Regions from separate parts of the Homo sapiens genome. Here regions 1 and 2 are each linked to region 3. Evidence: promoter capture Hi-C in human tissues and cell types (Jung and others, 2019). All regions are on one chromosome and are shown on one strand. The core of a region is centred on a gene start or on the middle of the fragment in contact, and the rest is flanking DNA. Distances in the headings are between cores, read along the strand shown.

What was found. The method cuts DNA at HindIII sites, captures the fragments that hold promoters and counts their contacts. A contact is called where the count stands out against the background at its distance.
Region 1: a contact is called between a fragment that was not itself captured here and the fragment with the promoter of PPP2R3C in region 3, in 1 of the 25 tissues and cell types used here (dorsolateral prefrontal cortex).
Region 2: a contact is called between a fragment that was not itself captured here and the fragment with the promoter of PPP2R3C in region 3, in 1 of the 25 tissues and cell types used here (mesendoderm cells).

The regions. Positions count from the first base shown.
Region 1 is chr14:35,687,594-35,691,360 of GRCh38, reverse strand. RALGAPA1 (Ral GTPase activating protein catalytic subunit alpha 1) reads left to right here. Exons shown (of 42, transcript NM_001346249.2): 18 at 1,358-2,902. Among named protein-coding and RNA genes, the nearest start is that of SNORA101B, 73 kb to the left of the region's middle. The HindIII fragment of the contact is 3,538 bases long and covers 190-3,727 here.
Region 2 is chr14:35,670,686-35,674,937 of GRCh38, reverse strand. It overlaps RALGAPA1 (Ral GTPase activating protein catalytic subunit alpha 1), which reads left to right. Exons shown (of 42, transcript NM_001346249.2): 23 at 229-422; 24 at 660-758; 25 at 1,916-2,071; 26 at 3,421-3,549. Among named protein-coding and RNA genes, the nearest start is that of SNORA101B, 90 kb to the left of the region's middle. The HindIII fragment of the contact is 6,397 bases long and covers 1-4,252 here.
Region 3 is chr14:35,120,413-35,124,434 of GRCh38, reverse strand. It overlaps PPP2R3C (protein phosphatase 2 regulatory subunit B''gamma), which reads left to right and starts at 2,445. Exons shown (of 13, transcript NM_017917.4): 1 at 2,445-2,533. The coding sequence starts at 2,476. PRORP (protein only RNase P catalytic subunit) reads right to left here and starts at 1,883. Exons shown (of 8, transcript NM_014672.4): 1 at 1,800-1,883; 2 at 204-1,483. The coding sequence starts at 1,189. It overlaps PRORP-PSMA6 (PRORP-PSMA6 readthrough), which reads right to left and starts at 2,596. Exons shown (of 15, transcript NR_182666.1): 1 at 2,383-2,596; 2 at 204-1,483. RefSeq lists enhancers at 1,390-1,899, 983-1,902, 1,910-1,989, 2,530-2,659, 1,903-2,822 and 1 more. The HindIII fragment of the contact is 11,618 bases long and covers 1,365-4,022 here.

The sequences.
Region 1 (3,767 bases), core at 709-3,208, 570 kb before region 3:
TACAGACCATGATGGATTCATAGACATTGTATTTTGCTTCCACAATTCCTGTTGAGAATTTGTATATATCTGAACAGTTAAATGGTTATTTCATCCTGACACTGAAGGCAGTGAAAATAATGCAGTGATATGCAACACTAAGCCTGTTTCTCAAACTTTTTTATTGTAAATTTGATAAAGTAACTTAACCTCTCTGGGCTTCAATTTTCTCATCTGTGAGATAGTTAAATTAGATAATCTCTGAATGTCCATCTATAATAATAATAATAATTATTATTATTATTATTATTTGAGACGGAGTTTTGCTCTTGTTGCCCAGGCTGGAGTGCAGTGGCATTATTTCGGCTCACCGCAGCCTCTGCCTCATGGGTTCAAGCAGTTCTCCTGCCTCAGCCTCCCAAGTAGCTGGAATTACAGGCATGCACCACCACGCCCGGCTAGTTTTGTGTTTTTAATAGAGATGGGGTTTCTCCATGTTGGTCAGGCTGGTCTTGAACTCCCGACCTCAGGTGATCTGCCCACCTCAGCCTCCCAGAGTGCTGGGATTATAGGTGTGAGCCACCGCGCCCAGCCTATAATTCTTAAAAAGAGATGTAAGAAGCCAGAAATATAGTTTTTAGAGCTTGATGGCTGTTTAATGGAAAGGGCCAATAACAGGCAGGTAAAGTTTCTTCCTAGCAGATTTAAGTGGTGTTTTTGCCAAAAACAAAAGAATACAATTGATTTTTTAAAAAATATATTGACTTTATTTGATGTCAGTGAATAAGATTTTAATACGTAATAAAGTAAAACACCTGGGGAGAACAGTTTCCTGACAAAGAGAAATTTAGGAAGAGGGTAGAGACTTTCATTTCTAATATGTAATCAAACAGAGAAGCAAAATTTGAAGAAAAGATGCCTCTTGCCTTTTTGGGAAGGAAGCTGGAGAATTTATTAGACCCTATAAGAGTCTACAGTGGGATACTTGGATCGGCTTTCTGTGTTAAGGTGTATTTTTTCTGCTTGGAACGTAAATAAGTAGGAAAAATTTAATAGCATTTGAGTTGCTTGATTTATTGGCACAGCTCTATCTTTATCTGCACTTCCAAATGTTTCATCACCTCACTGTCTGTTTCTATGCATGTTAACATTTTAAAATGTGTTTTGGTAGTTTTCTAATTCATTGACACTACATGCTATATTGGCTTGTGCCCATCATTTTTTTAAAAAAGCAGATTTGTATTTTGATTTTTTTTTCATTGAGCTTACAAAAACTCAGATTTTTTTTAAAGCATATGCTTTAGAGCATTATTGAAATTAATAATTATTTTTTATATTTGTGTAGTTCTTCTCTACATAATTTTTTTTTCTTTTACAGATATTGATGATGCTCAAATACTTCCCCGCTCAACTAGAGTCAGACATTTTTCACAAAGTGAAGAAACTGGAAATGAAGTTTTTGGTGCTTTGAATGAGGAGCAGCCATTGCCTCGAAGTAGCAGCACTTCTGACATCTTGGAACCATTCACTGTTGAACGAGCCAAAGGTGCAGTTCCTGTCATTGACAGTTCATCCCGTCATGCACCAAGCTTGCAGAGTTCCACAGAGGCTTCTTCAATAACTAGATCCACTGAAAGCCACATCACTGATACTCATAGTAGAGAGTCTTCTCTGGAAGTTGGTGATAGCATATATGACCATCTTTGTCATTTAATAGGTCCAGTAGAACTTGCAGATTCAGCTTTTGAACAAATCCAGTACATTGACCTTGAAGGAGATGATGATCTTCTTTCCACCCTGAAAGAATATTTTAAGGAAAACCAGGAAAATCATAGTAAAAATGAGACAGGGAAAGACCCAGCTTCTCAGGAAGTGACTATTGCAGTAAATAGGGGTGAAAGATTATCCTTAGATAAATTAGAATGCACAGATCAGGAAACTGAATCAGAAAATATCACCTCTTTTGTTGGGACTCCTGAAAACCTACAGTTTCAGAAAGAACCAAACTCAGCTGTCTTCATGAGTAATATCGCACCTAACCAGTCAGACAGTTTTTTTAGAACACAAACTTCTGAAAAATCTAAGCAACTAAACACTGATAAACAGCCATCAGAGCCTAGTTTAGATAGCCCTTGTGATAAAGAAAAAAGGAAACATCTGTACAGACAAGCAGCCACAGAATTAGATGCTTGTGTTGATGTAACACTAGTTGAAAAGCTTAAGAGTGTGCAAATTAATGAAAAAATCACTGTCCCACATGTTATGCGTGCCAAGAAAGCAACACTAAAAGCACCTGTTAACCGCAGAATGCCTCATGTTACAAGTACTAGCAAACTTTCTCCAACTAAAAGGAGCTTGTCTGAAACAGTAACTCATAGAGCCAAAATCATGAAAATTGCTACTAAAAAACGAAATAGTGTTCATGTTACTTTTAGGCCATCCACTGAGTCCGTTCAGTTTTATAATCCTCTGGAAAACAAAGAGGCTCCATGGAAGATGAGACTGCGGAAGCTCGGTGGCTTTAGTAGTGGTAGCAGCAATAGCAGCACTAGCAACACCCATACCAGCACAAATAGTGCTACAGAGCTAGTAAAACCTGGTGTGTACAGACCTCTAGATACACTTGGTACTGCATCAGTAAGCAGCAAAACAGTGAAGGAATCCACAGAGATTCCCACCACCATATTACAAAAAGAAGGAATTGCAAGTAGTCAATTAGGTAGTCGTAGTACTCTTAGGTCATCAAGTCATGAGGCAGGACTACAGCAGGGCTCCCTGGGTGGCGTTTATAAAACTGTTGTACATGCTCTTTCGAAGCCGAAGGCAAATGTTTCCCCACAGAGGCAGAACAGAATGCCACCAGAGGCTCCACTGAGGGATCTGTACAGTCATGTAATGGGCTATTTTGGAAGGAAAGCTGCAGGTGAGCACTAACAGTGTGCAGAGCGCAAAAGGAGAAAGACAGCACCAGTTTGGCTTAATGCAACTGAAGCAAGCTATAAGCAATCAAAAAGCTTTGGGATGGTCACTGCTTTCTCTCTGTTTGGTTATGCATGCGCCTTTTCCCAGCTGTATTTTTCCCAGCATAGAATGTTTATTTAAATTACTAATTTCCCTTATAAGGCATTTAGTTAAACCTCTTTGCTGCTGAACAACAACATAGGAAAGTGGATATATAGGAAAATTTCAATAACCTATCAAAGACTACCTAAATCAAGTATTTTTCTGAGTGTATACCACAAGTATGGAAATTAAGATTATCAAGGAGTTACTATGCTTTCTTCCCCACCCCACTATAGTTTAAAAGGGCACCAGATATATCTAACTGATTTCACTTATTTTTACTGCTGATCTATTTGGTTTTGTATTTTTTCTTGATAGAAATTATTTTGACAACTAACATAATAGAAATCAAGGTCCTACAGCCAGCACCAACATTATAGTTAACTATCAGTGATGAGGAAATTATTTCTTAAATCTCAAAGTGAATTTAATCACTTTTCATTTAAGCCATTTCCAAACATGCTGTAGGCTTTTAGTTTTGCATTCATTTATATAGAATGCAAGTTATGTCCTTGAAACACTTTAATTACTTTGTTTTTTTCTGAGATTTTAAATGTGCATAAAGGTTTCACAGTAGCCACTCATGATTTAAATATGGAACCTCTATGGACAGATAACAGAAAGCAAGATTATGGTAACTGTTTTCTCTATCTTGAGTCAAAGTTAAAATAACTTTACATATATAGACTATTAACTTTCAGCAGTAAGGTTGGTTTTGATTTTAT
Region 2 (4,252 bases), core at 1,236-3,735, 550 kb before region 3:
TAGAATCACTATTGAATAGCTAGTTAACATAATGCTTACAATAATTCCTTATTATTATCTCATAATAATAAGTGAGGTTTTGACCTTATCGGGAAAAAATAATGTATGTTGACATTTCTTTTATTCATTTCTGTAGATATTTAAGATTGTTAATTTAGCTTGGTTTCTTGGGGGGTTTTATGTTCAGTTCACTGAAAAATGGCTGACACTATATATTTTTTTCTATAGAAATTAGTGAATTTCCATCAGAATGTTGTAGTGTGATGGCAGGAGGTACTCTGACTGGATGGCATGCTGATGTTGCTACTGTAATGTGGCGAAGAATGCTAGGCATTTTGGGAGATGTAAATTCAATCATGGATCCTGAAATACATGCTCAAGTTTTTGATTACCTCTGTGAACTTTGGCAGAATCTAGCTAAGGTAAAAAAGAAATAGCGGATATAAGTGGAGAAGAAAATAAAAATATTTAAAAATAGAAGAAGCCTTAGAAAACATTTGTGACACCCTTTTTGACTATAAACTGGTACCCTGCATGGCAAAGTCACTTAATTGTAATTAAATAGTAAGTGTAGAAACTGGATTTGAAATTCAGTTTAAGGTAAACTGGAAGAGATAACAGTTTTCTTAGGTTTGTTGCTTTTTATTTGAAAATTACAGATTAGAGATAACCTTGGCATTTCAACTGATAACCTGACCTCCCCTTCTCCACCAGTTTTAATTCCTCCACTGAGAATTCTTACACCTTGGCTTTTTAAGGTAAGCTTAATATATAAAATATTAGTTTAAAACTTCTCATTTACTAAATCTTAAACTTTTTATAGAGATTTTGGCTATTATATAGACTTCTAGAGCACTTAGTTTTTAACCAGTATCCTTAGGAAGTCATTAGGCATTATATAGAGAAGAGAATGTGCATACTAAAATTACTCGGGATTTATTGCTTTTGATTATTTCATAAAACAAAAGTGAATATAGAGAGGTATGTCTGTATTGTATTTAACTGAAGTATAAACTTTGAGTTGTATCACAGAATATGCTGTGTATTAAAAGTTGTGACCGGGTGAGGTGACTCACACCTGTAATCGCAGCACTTTGGGAGGCTGAGCCGGGTGGATCACATGAGGTCAGGAGTTTGAGACCAGCCTGGCCAACATGGTGAAACCCTGTCTCTACTAAAAATACAAAAAATTAGCTGGGCATGGTGGTGGGCACCTGTAATCCCAGCTACTCGAGAGGCTGAGGCAGGAGAATCGCTTGAACATAGGAGGCGGAGGTTGCAGTGAGCTGAGATGGCGCCATTGCACTCCAGCCTGTGTGATGAGAGCGAAACTCCGTCTCAAAAAAAAAATTTTAATTCTTTTTTGTTTGTTTTTTAAAAGACAGGGCCTCACTCAGTCACCCAGACTTGGAGTGCAGTGGCATGATCACAGCTCACTGCAGCCTTGAACTCCTGGGCTCAAGCAATCCTCCCACTTCAGCCTTCCAAGTAGCTGAGACTACTACAGGCGTGTGCCACCGTGCCTGGCTAATTTTTTATTTTTTTGTAAAGACAGAGTTTCTCTATGTTGCCCAGGCTGGTCTCAAACTCCTGGCCTCAAGAGACCCTTCTGCCTTGGTCTTCCAAAGTGCTGGGATTACAGGCTTAAGCCACTGTGCCCAGCCAAAAGATTTAATTATTTTAAGTATTGATATGTTTGGTACATTTTCCTAAGTGGAACAGTTTATGGTTATACCTACATTGTATCATTTTGGATGATGATAATTTCACTAATCCTGAATTTTAGTTCATTAAAGAAATTGGGCCAACATGGAAATAAATGAGATTATATACATCGTTTGCTATATTCAGTTGCTTAAGTTATTTAGCAAATAGTATTTCTTTTTGAACATTAAAACTGATCTTTTAATTTTAGGCAACCATGTTGACTGATAAATATAAACAAGGTAAATTACATGCATATAAACTTATTTGTAATACAATGAAAAGAAGACAAGATGTTTCTCCAAATAGAGATTTTCTAACACATTTCTACAATATAATGCATTGTGGATTACTTCATATTGACCAGGTAACTATATATATATGTATCATCTAAGAAGTAGTTTATATCATATTATCTTTGATTCTTGATTCTGTTTAACTCTTGCTTTTTAAGGTCTAGAAGTTAAACTCTCCCCCTTATTTAGTGATTTATATACAATTTACTTCAATTTTATGACCTTATTTGTTCTTGAAACATGGTTGAAAATCAAGCTATTATTGTAGGTAGAGGATTGACTTGAGTAGTTCTCCATCTTTAATGTTGTACCAACCAGTTCACTTTTTGAAGCAATTAAACCATCCTTTGCTTAGGCTGATACCTTTCTTTAATAATATTCTAATGTACCTACTCTTAGGCATTTTGTGACTGATACTTGAGGCATATGGATTCGTTTATCTAGTTATGCAACAGTCAGGTTTTTTTCAATCTAAGAATCAGCACATCACATTTTCTTATTACTGTCAATTATATTGGCATAGTGACAGTTACATTGATTTGATAATTATATGAGGTATAATCATTAAATAGTCATAAATATAACCTTAGAATTACTTTGGGAGTCTTGATATTGGCCATAAACTAACAAGTGTAGGAGGTTGCAAGTCAGAATAATGTAAATATGTTTATCCTAATATGATGAACTCGTAGGTCATTTACAGAGTATATTAATATTAAAAGATAATATCTTTCTGAAAAATGTAAAATTTTTGCATTAATTTAAAATTAGTGTGCTACCTTGTAAACATGTCTCAAGTAAAATGACTCTCTTAATTATTAGAAGAAGAGAGCTTTTGTTTAAGATAAGTTGTAATGAATAATACAACTGAATACACTGTATCCTCATAGTAAATTCCAAAGGCAAAGTAAATGAATAATGAAGTTAGGAACATTCCCTTAAAAGTGCCTAGGTCTAGATTTCTGAGGCTTGATACCTATCATTAAAGGACTTCAGTTTATTTTAAAAAGAGAATCTTTCCAATTGTCACGTAACGGGTCATGTGGATTCAGAAATGAGAGTTATTGCACAGAAGCAACTAGGTGACAGGAGAAAACTGCTATGCAGTTTAGTTTTACATTGTGTGGGCCTTGTACTTTTAACCTTGTGAAGCAAAGAGCCTTCCTTAATCTCTAGTGTGAAAAAAATGCTGTTATTTATGCCAGTTAAATGAATGTATTTTCAGTTTACTTTCCATTGATAGAATATAATATTAAGCATGGATTATTTGGAAGAATTGAAATTAGTCTTTCCAGTTAGCCAATGTACAGTAATTACCTTTTTTATTATTTCATATGTTATCTATTTTTAATGATACTGATTAGCTGATACTCAAGATTACATATGTGATATTCTTTTTTCCTTCTTTCCTTATTCTAAGGATATTGTCAATACAATCATCAAACACTGCTCACCTCAATTTTTTTCACTTGGTTTGCCTGGTGCCACAATGCTTATTATGGATTTTATTGTAGCAGCTGGTAGAGTGGCTTCTTCAGCTTTTCTCAATGTAAGTCATTTCCTGTTCCTTATCATATAACAAACTTTAGCCAGGATTCAACTAACAAAGTTGATAAAACATAACAAGCTGATAATCAGGAAATTTTGCAATTTAATTGGAATTGATTGCTTCTCCTACATTAAAAAAAGTAAGCAAGAAATCTGAAATATAAGAAAGCACTAAAATCAGTAAAATCTGATAAGCAGAACAGGATTTAAAGTTGAGGAAATCTAAAGAAACGGAGGGAAGAAAGCAAAGAAAGAGCAATGGGCTATAGCAAGAGGTAAGAAACAATGGTGAGTCATCATTACACAGTGTATGTGTGTATCAAATCATCGTGTTGTACACCCTGAATATATATTGTCTTTAACAATTATATATTTAAAAATTAAAAAAAAGAAACTTGGTAAGGCATCCACCATAGAAGGACATATGTCCTAGGAGCAAACTCTCTCTCTCTCTTTTTTTTTTTTTGAGATGGAAGTCTTACTCTGTCGCCCAGGCTGGAGTGCAGTGGTGCGATCTTGGCTCACTGCAGCCTCCGCCTCACAGGTCCAAGTGATTCTCCTGCCTCAGCCTCTTCAATAGCTGGGATTACAGGCAGGCACCACCACACCCAGCTAATTTTTCTATTTTTAGTAGTGACGGGGTTTCACCATGTTGGTCAGGCTGGTCTCGAACTCCTGACCTTGTGATCTGCCCGCCTCAGCCT
Region 3 (4,022 bases), core at 1,196-3,695:
TTAGCCAGGTATGGTGGCACATGCCTGTGGTTTTAGCTACTGAGGAGACTGAAGCGAGAGGATCACTTGAGGCCAGGAGTTTGAGGTTACAGTGAGCTATGAACACACCACTGCACTCCAGTCTGGGCAACAGAGCAAGACCCTGTCTCAAAAAAAAAAAAAATTAAAGAATAAAAACATACATATAAAAAAACCAAAATTACCTCTCAAACCATGTTTTTATACTGTGTGCAAATGACTCCCCTGGATACAGCTGATTATTTCTTAGATATGAAAGAATATCTAGTAGTTTATTTGAATAGTTATCATCCTTTATGTCTTTTCCAAAATCAAAGAAAGCTTTTAAAGTTTCCAACATAGGAACAATATCATGACCTAGCAATTCCTGATATAAATTCCAAGCTGTGTTTACATCTTGATGAAGGAGAGCTCCCTGGATACAGTCATTATAGTTCTTTTTTGAAGGAGTTATAACTTTTTTGATGTCCTCTAACAGCAACAATGCTTCTCTCCATCTGTCTGAATGGATCAATCCCCGGATGAGAAGACTGTAACCTCTAGGTTCTAAAGTCTTATATCTGGCTTTCATAATTTCAAAGACATCAATAACTTCAGATGTCTGCATATGAAAGACACAGAGATACAAATACTTGACCAGTAAATCGTAACTTACAATACCATTATTTTTGGCTGCTACCCATGCCAGCAGAGATTTAGCCACATCTATAGAGCTATGACAGCCAGCCATCTGTGAAATGATCCAACTTTCGAAACTGGTCTTTCCGGTGTTTTCTTTTAAATCTTCCTTAAGTTTATCCCACTCCTCTGAATTCAAAGGTTGTGTTGGGAGTTGAATAGTGTTCCTCACAGGTGCCAAGGCATGATCTTCAGTTTGAGAATTCATCTGTGATCTCTCCTTAGCTGCTCCAGCTAAAAAAAAATGAGGAACAGAATAAACTTGCTTATTACTGCCCTCATCTTTCCTGAGATATCTGGCCTTGGCAATCAGATTCGTTGCTTTGGTATTCTGTGGAGACATTGTTTTAAGAGAAAACAACCTCTGCTGGTTCCTGATGCCACAGCGGTCTGCCAGAAACAGCGAGACATAAGAGTGCCCTGGGCCTAGCCCAAGGTATGGGCTCTTCCAAAGCTTCGGAAAGCTTCGAATACCAAACAAATAGAAAGTCATTATGCAGTGAGATCAGCACCAGATAGTGAGAGAGATGTTGAAAAAACCCCTCTTCTATGGCAAAATTAAAGAGATTGGGGGTCGGCGGTGCAGAGTCGAAGTGGAACTTTTTAAAAGGTTTGTGTTTCTTCCTTACAGACAAATCAAGGTTCTGCTTTTGGGGCTACTTAAAAGCAAGAAGGCAGGTGAGTTTTCTCTATTAAACAACAATCCGGGGATGTCCAACGTCGCAAGCCGCAAACCAGGGGACAGAGCAGGAATCCTCTGGTGCCTCTTACATTCCAGTTCATGAACCTGAGGAAAAAGCACAAGACGGAACGCCCAGTTTTACTCACGTGGATCACAGCTGTCCTGAAAAGGAACAGATTCCCACGGGAAGCTTGCTGGAAAGGGGGTGTAAAGCCAAAACCGTATCCAGGGACCCCCAACTCCAGCCTACCACCAACAGCGGCGAAAGCCGAAGTCTAGGGGCCCTCACCCTGCATAGCTCTCTACAGACCGCAAAACTCCTCCGGTGGGGGGACGAGGAGGGAGGAGGTGGCGAGTCAGCTGCGCCAACGACTCAGGAAAGGAAGAGAGGTACAGGAAGGGCGCTGCCTAGACTGCGTACCGAACGCTGACAAATGAAGTTCACTTCATTCAACAACTCAAAGCGGCACTCAGACTTAACGCGGCCATAAACGCGGCGGAAACTACAGTGCCCACGATGCACCGCGCCAGCCCCGACCGACGGACGAGACTGACCCGGACTTAGGCGTTCCGCCTGGCCCGGCGGCGAGGAAAAAAGGCAGTTTTGAAGCATTTAGTGGCAAAAGGGGTAGGAGACGGCTGCTGAAGTGTCTACTACATTCAGGGGACCTGGAAGGCTTCCAGATATCCGCAATGAACAATGAAAAGAAATTGTGAAAGAAGGCGCTTCCCTCAAGCCGGAACTAATGAACTCCTGGGTCACGTGGTGCGCACGCGCCAAAGGCACACGATAAAGGAAAACGCGGGCTTATCGTGGCCTTTAAAATCCGGCTTGGTGAGCTTGGGTCGCCTCTGAAGGAGAACCATTTTCCATCTCTTTCATAGTTTTTTCCCCCAGTCAGCGTGGTAGCGGTATTCTCCGCGGCAGTGACAGTAATTGTTTTTGCCTCTTTAGCCAAGACTTCCGCCCTCGATCAAGATGGTGGTTGGACGGCCTTCCTAACCTTTACGGGGCCTGGCGGTGCTGACGCCTGAGCTGGTAGGGGTGGAGCAGGTAGGAAACAGCAAATGCAGAAGCTGCTGCGCGGAAGTCGGCCATGGACTGGAAAGAAGTTCTTCGTCGGCGCCTAGCGACGCCCAACACCTGTCCAAACAGTGAGTTTTGGGAGGGGCAGCCCGTTGGGATGGCCCGGCCCTAAACTCCTAGAGGTAGGGGGGAGGTGGGGAGGAGGAGCAAGGGGGAGCCGCCTTTTCCGCTTCTGTGAAACCTCCCGACAAAGGAGGCGGAGTGGAATGTGGTTTAAGGATCCCGATAGGTTTGACCCAAACTTTCCTGGGGCAGAATCTAGAGGAACGAAAAACTTAGCTTTAGTCACTGACTTCCATGGTCTTAATCTAAACTTGTGAAGAATAACTTGGAACCCCGGCTCCAACAACGCCTGAACCCCACCAGGACCTATAATTGTCCTCCTGCCTTTTTACTGTCACGCTTTTTGCTTCCCTCGTAATCCATTTTATATTTCATAATCCATTTTTCCTTTTATTTTTCTCCTTCACATTGCTTATTAACTAACCTCGTTAAATCTACCTTTCCTATTCCACACCCGCACTAAGGGCTGTTGAAAGTGGCTGGAGAAAAACAGAACCTTGGTGAGTTGTCTCACTTTTTTTTTTGAGACGGAGTCTCTTGCTCTGTCGCCCAGGCTGGCTGGAGTGCAGTGGCAGCATCTCCGCTCACTGCAACCTCTGCCTCCCGGGTTCAAGCGGTTCTTCTGCCTCAGCCTCTGGAGTAGCTGGAACTATAAGCGCGCGCAACCACGGCCGGTTAATTTTTGTATTTCTAGTAGAGACGGGGTTTCGCCATATTGGCCAGGCTGGTCTCAAACTCCTGACCTTGTGATTCGCCCACCTCGGCCTCCCAAAGTGCTGGAATTACAGACGTGAGTCACCGCGCCCCGCCGAGTTATCTCACTTTTAATACAAGTCCACTAATCTAAAGAAGGTGTTTTGGTCATGTCTACCGTGTTTTCCTGGACGTTCATTCTCCTACATTCAATTTTCATCTCCCAAACTGCCAATCTGTGTTTTCCTAAATACACTTTTTTTTTTCCGATACAGGATCTCCCTGTGTTGCCCAGGCTGGAGTGCAGCGGCGCAGTGAAGTATTGCTGCAACCTCGATTTCCTGGGCTCAAGGGATCTTCCCACCCCAGCCTCTTGAGCAGCTAGAAGTACAGGCACACGCCACCACACCCGGCTAATTTTTTATTTTTAGTGGAGATGAGGTCTTGCTATGTTGCCTGGGCTGGTCTCGAATTCCTGGCCTCAGGCAGTCTTCCTACCTCCACCTCCCAAAGTGTTGCTATTACAGACGTGAGCCGCCGCACCCAGGCAACACTCTTTTACACTATTCTTCTCATCTCCTACACCTGCAGTCTGTCCTACCCGCTTCTTACTTTAAGCTGATGAACTTGTATTTTAATATATATCTCATTAAGAAAGGAGAAGCAGTCGGCCGGGCGCGGTCGCTCAGTCCTGTAATCCCAGCACTTTGGGAGGCCGAGGCGGGCGGATCACGAGGTCAGCAGATCGAGACCATCCTGGCTAACACGGTGAAACCCCGTCTCTACTAAAAATACAAAAAA